Linked DNA regions of Homo sapiens: region 1 is linked to region 2. The links are contacts of gene promoters, found by promoter capture Hi-C in blood cells and fetal thymus (Javierre and others, 2016). All regions are on one chromosome and are shown on one strand. The core of a region is centred on a gene start or on the middle of the fragment in contact, and the rest is flanking DNA. Distances in the headings are between cores, read along the strand shown.

Region 1 (4,418 bases), core at 219-2,718, 180 kb before region 2:
TTTTGTTTTTATTCTAAGGGAGGAGCTCTTGTATGGTGACAGTTGAGGGGGATTCCTCCTGCTTGCTCTGTGCTATGCAGGGGGAAGGGCATGAATAGCCCACCAAACACTGCAAATTTCCTACAGCTTTCACTGGAATCCCTTTTTGGTTTTACAATGGCGTGGGTGCTGTAGCTTTTCAGTTGGTCTCTGGAGTTCTCACAGAGGTATTCTGTTTCATATATTGTTGATAACTCAGTATATCTGTGTGGGAAAGAGGGTCTGTAGCTTCCTAGCCTATCATCTTGCTGATGTCACTTTCCTCATTTCTAAATAGTTTAAGGTATGACTTTGATTGAATGTTCTTATAAACCTCAAATAATTTAGGAAATTGAATTCTTGGCTGGGCGCGGTGTCTCATGCCTGTCATCCCAGCACTTTGGGAGGCGGAGGCAGGCAGATCACGAGGTCAGGAAATCGAGACTATCCTGGCTAACATGGTGAAACCCTGTCTCTACTAAAAATACAAAACATTATCCAGGTGTGGTGCCACGTGCCTGTAGTCCCAGCTACTTGGGAGGCTGAGGCAGGAGAATCCCTTGAACCTGGGAGGCAGAGGTTGCAGTGAGCCGAGATTGTGCCACTGCACTCCAGCCTGGGTGACAGAACGAGACAGTCTTAAAAAATAAAAATAAAAAAGAAAAGAAAAGAAAATTGAATTATTTTCAAGTAGGCGTGTGTGTGTGTTTGTCTGTGTGATTACTATTTTCTAATTATACTGAATTATGGTTAGCAAATATGGCATATGTGTTTCTTATTCTGAGAACTTTTGGAGATTTCCTTTGTGGCCTATTACCTGGTAAGCTTTTGTGGAAGTTCTATGTGTATTCTGTTTTTTGAGTACAAAGTTCTAACTTTATCTTTTGTACTAAGCTTCTTAATTTTGCTTTTTAAATTCTCTATATTATTATTTATAATTTTCAACCACATGATTGACCAGTTTCTAAGAGAAACTGAGGAATATTTTTGGGACTCAGATTTTTGGGACATATCTATTATCACTATGATAATAGATATGTAAATTTGGCCTTTTATACCTGCCAGTTTTTATTTCACGTATTGCAAAACATGTTTGGTGCATAAAGGTTTATGACTGCCATGTTTTCTTATTAATAAGGGGTATAATCCTTTTATTGTACTTCTTATCAAGTACCTCTTATTATACCTCTTATCAAATATCCTCCTCTGCCCCAGTTTGTGATTTTTACTGTTTTGACTGATACTAATAATGCTATACTTGCCTTCCTCTTAGCGTTTGCATGTTATATCTTTACCTATCCTTGATTGTTTTAGCAGGCTATGTTTTCAAAACTATGTAATTTTAATTTTAAAAATGTAACCCAATAGCCTTTTTAAAATAGGTGAATTTATCCCAGTTACATTTATCATGATTATTAATATCTCATTACAGTTGTTGATGCCTACCAGCCAAAGACCAACAGAAATAGGCTTGTCGTCAAACAAAGTTTGGTTTATTGGTACTTATTGCAACAAGGGCAACACCCCAAAGTTCCCCATGGTATGTGGTCTCCCTTGTTGCAACAAAGACCAATAATTTTGTTCAACGAAACCTGTGCTCCTGGTGGTCTTTGACTTGTGGATATCAACATAGTAAAGCGCTCTCTTTCTCTCTCTCTCTCCATCTGTGTGTGTGTGTGTGTGTGTGTGTGTGTGTGTGTGTGTGTGTGTGTTGTCTTTCCCAAATACATGCTATCTCTTCAAATGTTTCTTGCTACCTAGCTATCTTGGGAATCTATTTCCATTTCTTATCTCCACCCCTTAATCTCTGTTTCTGTCTTTATGTCTGTGTCTGTTACACACACACACACACACACACACACACACACACACACCCCTTAACTTGACTCTGCCACATTTAGTTAAGCCAGATTTGCTGGCCAGAACAATGTCTGCTGCCTTGTGAGCCTTGGAGTCGAGGGTAAGGAGGAGAGATGATGGATAGAGATTTGGCTCAGCAAAGCTTTCAAGAATTTTCCTAACATGGCAGCAAAGAATCATCACAACAAATGCCATCTCCCATCCTGATAGTTCTTGATAGCTGATGACCCTGTGACACTATGGGTTTAATCATACTCTTACTGCTTGGATTCGATTGTCTGTATAATTAGGATCAAAACAATACAGTTTGTACTTTCTTTTTTATCTCCACTTCCTTTTATAGCTTAAGATCTTGTGTGCCACAGAACCAACACCTTCACTTCTGATCTTTGGAACATTTGCACATTAGATAATCAGAGTCAGTCTGGAAAGGAAGAGGTAGAGACTGGGGAGAAATGAGACTGGGGCCTTGGACCAGAAACCAATGTGGGGTAGTTTTATTAAACTCTCTCACCTATATTCTAATCATTACAAAAAATGCCTTCCATCTACACTGTACCTTCATAGATACAACCTCTTTTGTTTATTGAAAGAACCCTGAGAAATAGACATGCAAAATATCAATGCGTCCATTTTATTGATTAGGGAATTAGAGTTATGATTGGATCCTTGCCTTGTCCACTCATTACTGCATGGACATGTGCCTGTTTGTGTACCAAGCCTTGGGGTTCAGGAGTCAATTAAACATGCTGACTGACTGGAAGAGCCAGCTGTGGTGAAGGAGGCTTACTGTTGATGATCCACAGTGTGATACAGCCTCGACCTGCAGGGCAGATGATACTGGAGGTGTGAATGGTTGTGGGCAGCTGACTGAGCCCCAAGTGCTCCCTGGGGGATCAGGGAAGAACATGAGGGAGGCCTTAAAGGTGAGACAGTGTTGCCAGAGAAAAGGAGGATGGGACAGGAAGGGCTTTTAGGTTGAGGGAACAGCACATATGGAGTGGAGCAGAGCTGGATCCAGGTGCCCATGGGCAGTTGGGGGAGGCAAGGCAGAGTAGCTGAGGCCATGGAGCTGGTGCCCTGGGTGTCTGTCCCCTTACCCTTGGCTAGTTCACCTTCCACACATTATGTAGCCTGGCAGTCTCCATCACTGGGCATGTTCCTAAAAATTTCCAGTATGCTCTCCTGTCCATCAGCAGCTCTCCATTCCCTGTTCTGTGTTCTGTCCCTCAGTCCTGGTGTCCTTCCCTAATTCCAGGGCCAGTCCTACCTCTAGACATTTTGATTTGTTATCCAATACAGTTCCTTGGATTATTTATACCAGGTGAGTCAGGTTTTGTTTGTTTGATTGTTTGTTTTATTTTGTCACTTACAACAAAAAAAGCCCCGAAAAACCACTGGAAAAATACCTGGTACACCCTAGTGCAAGGCCTTTTAAGAAAAGAAGGTTGGAGAAGGAAGATTCAGCCTCAAGGTCCAAGTGAATGTAAGATATCTGGGCATGCAGAACAGGCCCAGATAACTCCCCAGCCCCACTACAAGTGCAGAGGAAATGAAACAGAAAGATAGTCATGGCCAGACTCGCACTGAAAAGAGAAGTGTCCAGTTTCCTTCATGCCAGGGGCATGGAGGAAACAGCACAGCCAAAGTTGACCTTGAAGGTTAATGAGTAGTCTGAGTTATGGTCAATCAGATCGGTAAATCTGTCTCTCTTTTTGAGTTGCTAATAATCAGGGAAGAGAGGCAGAGGGTAGAAAAAATGGGGACAGAAAAGTTTCCCCACCAGAATTCGTTTTAAGGAAAGTGAATTCAGACTAGAAGAGGCTGAGGAGTGGGTATCAGTAGAGAGCTGGGTTCTATGAGCAACAGGACCCAGCCCCCTAAAGAACACCCCTCCAAATGGGACCTGTGGCCCCTTTGCCTGGGCTGTTGCCCACCTGGTGGCATCTGTCTAAGCTCAGAGAAGGGCCCTGTCCAGCCGTAACTTTGGAGGGAGGCCCTGCTATGCTCCCAGCTGCCTGCTTTGCTTTTCCTTAGGATTGTTCCTTTGTGGTATGCAATCTGGCAGTGTCAGCATCACCTGGGTGTTCCTTTTGAATCCCAATCTGCATTTTAACAAGATCTTTGTGATTTGTAGTCAGATTTGTCTGCACATTAACATTTAGGATGCATGCTTTGGAGGATCTTTGGGTTTTGCTGCATACTGCCCTGGGTTTTCTTGTTTTGTTTTGTTTTATTTTGTTTGGCTTTTTAGCTCATGAGGTCTCCATGGGAACCTTTTCTCAGCAGGCTAAGATAGAGCCAGCCAGTCTCACCTGTGTGTGCAGGACGGTATATGCTCTCAGTGGGCACCACAGCCTTGAGGCAGCCCTTTGGAAGGTGGAGCAACTGATACTTGCACCAGAATGAAACTGAGGCTGACACAGGGATGAAGTGTGGAGGCAGAGAGGCAGTTACTGCAGGGAAAGGGCCATGGTCCTGGGAACTAGAGGAATAGGGCAACCTCCCAGTGACTACCGACTCACCAAGTGGAGAGTCAC
Region 2 (5,041 bases), core at 548-3,047:
AACAATCCAAGAGCTCACATTTATATGAGGCCCTTATCAGTACTGAGAGAGACATTCTCACTTCACAAGCTTGGATGTGCAAAAAGAAAAAAATCACTTATTTCTTTAAATCAGTTATTGATTTCAAACCCCCCATCCTACTGTCTGGCTGGAAATTCAATATCAACCATGCTTGGGTCTGGCTCCTAGAGCCATCTGAAGGTCCTTGGATGCCTACGCATTCAAGGGTGCCATTGTGGGTCTTTGGTCCCTTTCCCATTTGAGGCTGTTTAATGGCCCTGCTTCTCACCTGAGCCTGGAAACCCTACAAAGCCGAGACCCCAGGGTTAGGCCCACCTCCCTGTGCACACTCGCGGCTATGCCCTCTCCCGGCCCCAGTCCTAGGAAGCCCACTCCTCTGCACCACTCCCTCTCCCTACAGAATCCCGCTCCTCAAGGGCTGAACAAAAAAGCCGGAAAAGGAAGAGTGTGCAGGAACCTTTTTTATTCAATCCTTCTTTTACCCTTCTTGGAAAAAGCGCAAATACAGTGATAACTAAATACCGTATCTCTATCAATTATCCTTTGGCCCAAAGCCCTTTGGGGTGATCCTCCATGATGGATGCCCCATGTAAAGGTGAGGAATCTGATCCCGAGGAAGCAACCATTGTGGCCAATTTCACATAGATAATAGCTGGCCAGGTCTAGACTCAAACCAGGCTGTCCACTTCTCTCTGGTCCAGCCCAATTGCCCCAGCTGAGTCATTCTGAAGAGTCAGCATGGACTAAAATGGTGGGGAGGCCCCTCTTTTCCCACTGATGTTCACTGGCCCATGGGAGGGAAGTGGGGGAATCTCTTGAGGGCCATTAAGGTGGGTAACAAAGGCAAAAGAACCAGGTAACAGTTCATTTACTTACCTTCTATTCAACTAGCAACAACATCACAACTATTCATTAAACAGGGCCAATTTATCCCTATAGCACCATGAGTTAAAGAGAGTTGTGGAGAAAAGAGACAAAGAGGGAAGGGTTTTGAGAAGAAAAGGCCCTGAGAATCCTGCACACAGACCTTCAAGGGAACAGCTCCATCTGGTGACTGCTTAGCAGATTCTTGCTCAAGAAACAAAGCCATATTGTGATTTTATTCAACCACTCTCAAAGATGGAGAGATACAGTTAAGCTGGAGGCTGAAGCCAGTCAGTATCAAATTGATACTAAAATATTATATTGCAGCAAATCCAGAAGAAATACATCCTATCTTTCGCAACCACAGGAAGTAAATACCTGGAAGAAAGGTCCATCTCCTGCCAGTAGCACCAGACACCAGATTCATTATAACCTTTCATCAGAGATTAAATATGGAAACAGATCCTGGAAAAGCCCTTGGCAAATCATAAATGAGAGGAAGTTTTTCTCCATGGCATACCCTGGCCATTCCTCCACTCTCCAGCCACATCATGTCTCCAGCCCTGCTACAACTTGACAGCAATAATAATAACTAAAATGTGCACAGATCTTTACAGTTTACCAAGCCATTAACCCATTTAAAACACTTCTTTAATCAGTAAATCAGTGGGGAAAGGCTTGGCTATGCTGTGGTAACAAACCTCTCGAATCTTAGTCACTTGACACAACAAAAGATGGTATCTCGCTCACAGAACCTGTGGTGATCTGGGTGACTCTCAGGTCAGTGGCTCAGTAGTGCCCCTCTGCCTGCTCAGGGCCTGGAGGATTGGCCTGAGAGCCCCCCCAACCAGTGTCTCAGTAACTCAGACTGTTTGGAACCTGAGGTACCTCCATTTCATTATAAGCTGCCATGATGGATGGGGCAGGGGAAGAAAGTCCTGGAAGATCCCGCACTGCTAAGCAATGCTTTGTCCCAAAGTAACGCTCTTCACTCTGCTCCCAGCCTAGCTGCCGCAAGAGCGGAACAGAATATTCTGTGTGCTCAGGAGAAGAAAAGAGCAGATATGGTTGAGCACTAAAACCCTCTACTGTGGGTAGTGAACCTAGGTGGACACAGTTGCTCACCGGGACACTTAAACCAGCTTTGCGGGGCTGTCGGGGTTGGGAAGCACAGTCTGGAAAGATTTCCCAATGGAGGAAGCACCAATTGTGGGTCCCTGAAGCTGAGGGGATGATGCCCAGGCAAGGCCGAGGCAGTCTGCAGAGGGCTGGGGAGGTGGGAAAGACGATTTTGCTCAGAGGAGGCAGAGATGGGGTGGTGGCTGAGAGAGATGCAGGGTCAAGGAAAGGATGGCTTCAGAGAGGAGAGATTTGCTGGGGCAAAAGGCCACAGGATGGGGAGGCTGCGGGGTCCAAGAGGACAGCTGATGGAGCGAGACCCTGCAGGCAAGGAGGAGATGGGGTGACTCATGGCAGAATCGCACCAGAGTTCCCACAGCCCTGTGCGGCCACTATGACTAGTCCCATCCTGTACATGGAGAAAACGAGGCTCCTTCCAGTTGTCCCTCACGCCTCCCTTGATTTATGTACTACCTGATGTGTATAAGGACAGGTGGTGACAAACACATGGTCCCTACCCTTCAAGGACATATAATCCAGAGCTAAGACAAGACCTTAACACAGGGCAAAGTACTATGCTCTGAGTTCATTTGATGAGCGATGGGAGAACGGGCTTGATCCTAGCCATGCGGGAGAGACTGGAATTCAAGAGAGTCAAATGTGCTGGGAAAGACTTTCTGGGCAAAAGGAATAAGCAAAGGTGTGCAAAGGTAAGGAAGCAGGAAACCTTTGCACATCTTGAGAACTCGCCGGCCAGAGGCCTGTGAAGGAGCGCAGTGGTCAGGCAGGAGAGGCAGTCGGATGCAGGCTGAGACCATCCTGGAGGGTCTTGAGGCTGGCTTACCCCAGGCTGTGAGTAGTGGGCTCAGCCTAGTCCCGGCTCCTGGGTTAGTGCTCACGTGTCTCTCTGCCCCCTCAGGGCCTGGAGGAATGGCCTTAGAGCCCCCACCAACCACGCTCAGGAAGGCATTCCTAGCTCAGAGTACCCTCCTGGAGTCTACACTGGAAGGGGCTCCTGAGTGGGCCGCGCCACACCCCGAGGAGCAGAGGCGCAGTCCTCCCGCGTGCTCCCAGCACACTCCACCCCTACCCAGCACACCCACGGGGCCCCCACCTTGCTCACCTGGGGGGAACCACCCACTCTGCGCCCTCTCAGGGAGAGGTGGTGGCCGCTGCTCTATCCCCTCCCTCTCTTCCTCTTCCACCTTCTCTCTCTTCTCATCTGGGTGCTGGAACCCAAGGGTGAAACTGAGAGTCAGAAAGTCTCAGTCTCAAGGCAGAGCGGGGCAACTAATTTAAAACGGCTTCTACTCCGGCCCCCAGTGTGACTAATCTCCTTCTCTTCGCTCCACAGGTCTATAAATGGGCCACAGTAGGCACCCCTTTTTAAATCTGTAAAATCCCCAAATCCATTAAAAGTGACTTCAGAGGTCCCAGATAGGGACCAACATTTGTTTAAACCTTTTCCTCATTACATCTCATGACCGCCAGCTTACAAAAGAGAGACTGGGGGTTCTGGATGAGACGTATGCAATCCCTGAGTCCACCTTGGAAAGGACAGAGGCAGGTGTCACACCGTTCCTCTTTGACCCGAATCGCTTGAATCCCAGAGTTTCAACAGCTCAGGTGGGTTGAAGGCTCAGAATGTACCAGACATCCGAAGCGCTTTACATACATTTGCTCCTTGAATCTTCACGACAGCCCTGTGAGATGCAATAATCATGCCATTCCACAGACGAGGAAACGGGCCCAGGGGACTGCGGTCTCGGCTCCTTTCCTCTGGCTTTCTCAGAAAAGGCGCGGAGGCCCCCGCCGGGTGGGCGAGGCGGGGTGGGCGGCCCCTTGCGCCCTGGAGTCGCATTCCGCCACCAGGGGGCGCCGCCCCTCCGCCGCGGCCCGGGGAAGCCACCCGCGGAGGCGCCACGCCCAGCCCGCCCACGGGACGCCCCCGCGGCCCCACAGCCAGCCGGGCGGGACTCCACCACCCGGCTCAGCGCGCCTCCGATAGCCCGCTTCCCCGCCGGGGCGCCCTCGGGCCTGCGGGGCTCCCCGCGCCCACCGCACGCACGCACGCACGCCTTCCCCTACTCGGAGGGCCCGGCGGCTGAGCCCACCGGCGCCTGCTCACGGGACACAGCCTCGAGAAAACTTCCTCTCTGACTGCCCGCGATAAAGCACCGTTTAGTCTATTTATGTTTTCTGCACGAAAGTGTATTAAACACGTTAGAGAACAAGAGGAGTAGAGAGTAAGGTGCCACGAGGCACCGAGAGGGCCCGCGGGAACACACGGCTTCCTCAGGCTCTCTGACCGGCCGTGAGCAGGGTGGTCCCCGGCCGCATTGTGGGGCCATTCGCACCCAGAAGCTGTCAGCCTCCCCACTGCGTCACTGGCACCATCTGGGAACCATTATTCAGCCACTGCAGGGGGCTAGGTAGCCTCTGCTTCCTCCTTCCAATTCCCAAAACCTTCACCACAGCACCTCCTGGGGCCTGGCCCCGAGATAGGCTTGCATGTCGGAAAGAAACTGTTGTCAGCATTCCAGGCACTGTCCACCCCGGGAAAGGGGCAGGTACCCATCCCGTCACAGACTCAGGTACCCGGGCAAGCCGGGCACCAGGCCTATAGAGGTGAACAAGACAAACAGAAGGCAGACAGACAACCAAGAAAGCATCCAAACTGTGGCTGCAATTGGCTGATCAATTACAGGTGCAATAGTGCCATGAAGGAGAAGTGCAAACAGACAGACAGATGCCTGCATGGAAATGCAGGGGGAAGCCGGTGTATGTGGTGGATTAACAAAGGTGAAAGAGGCCCGTTCCCTAGGGATTGGAGATCTGGAGCAGAGATGAGCTCTAACTGTGCCTGGAAGGATAGGGTAAGTTTGTTGACAGGGGCCTTAGAGAAGGTGTTCTGGGCGGAGGGGACTGCAGGAGTGAAGACTCAGAGATGAGAAAACTGGACCATGTTTGCCTGGAGGGCAGGGTGTAAGTAGCGCCCCCAGTTGCAAGGTGCCTCAGGCAGAGCGTGGTGAGTGGT

Evidence for each region. Contacts are between HindIII fragments. The CHiCAGO score rates a contact against its expected background, and 5 or more counts as called.
Region 1: a fragment that was not itself captured here is called in contact with the fragment with the promoter of C3orf36 in region 2 in 1 of 17 cell types (endothelial precursors); the score reaches 5.7 in endothelial precursors.

What each region holds. Positions count from the first base shown.
Region 1 is chr3:134,105,827-134,110,244 of GRCh38, reverse strand. No RefSeq gene overlaps it. Among named protein-coding and RNA genes, the nearest start is that of LINC02000, 50 kb to the right of the region's middle. The HindIII fragment of the contact is 1,108 bases long and covers 915-2,022 here.
Region 2 is chr3:133,926,568-133,931,608 of GRCh38, reverse strand. C3orf36 (chromosome 3 putative open reading frame 36) reads left to right here and starts at 1,797. Exons shown (of 1, transcript NR_161373.1): 1 at 1,797-3,464. RefSeq lists a silencer at 3,639-4,168. The HindIII fragment of the contact is 5,965 bases long and covers 72-5,041 here.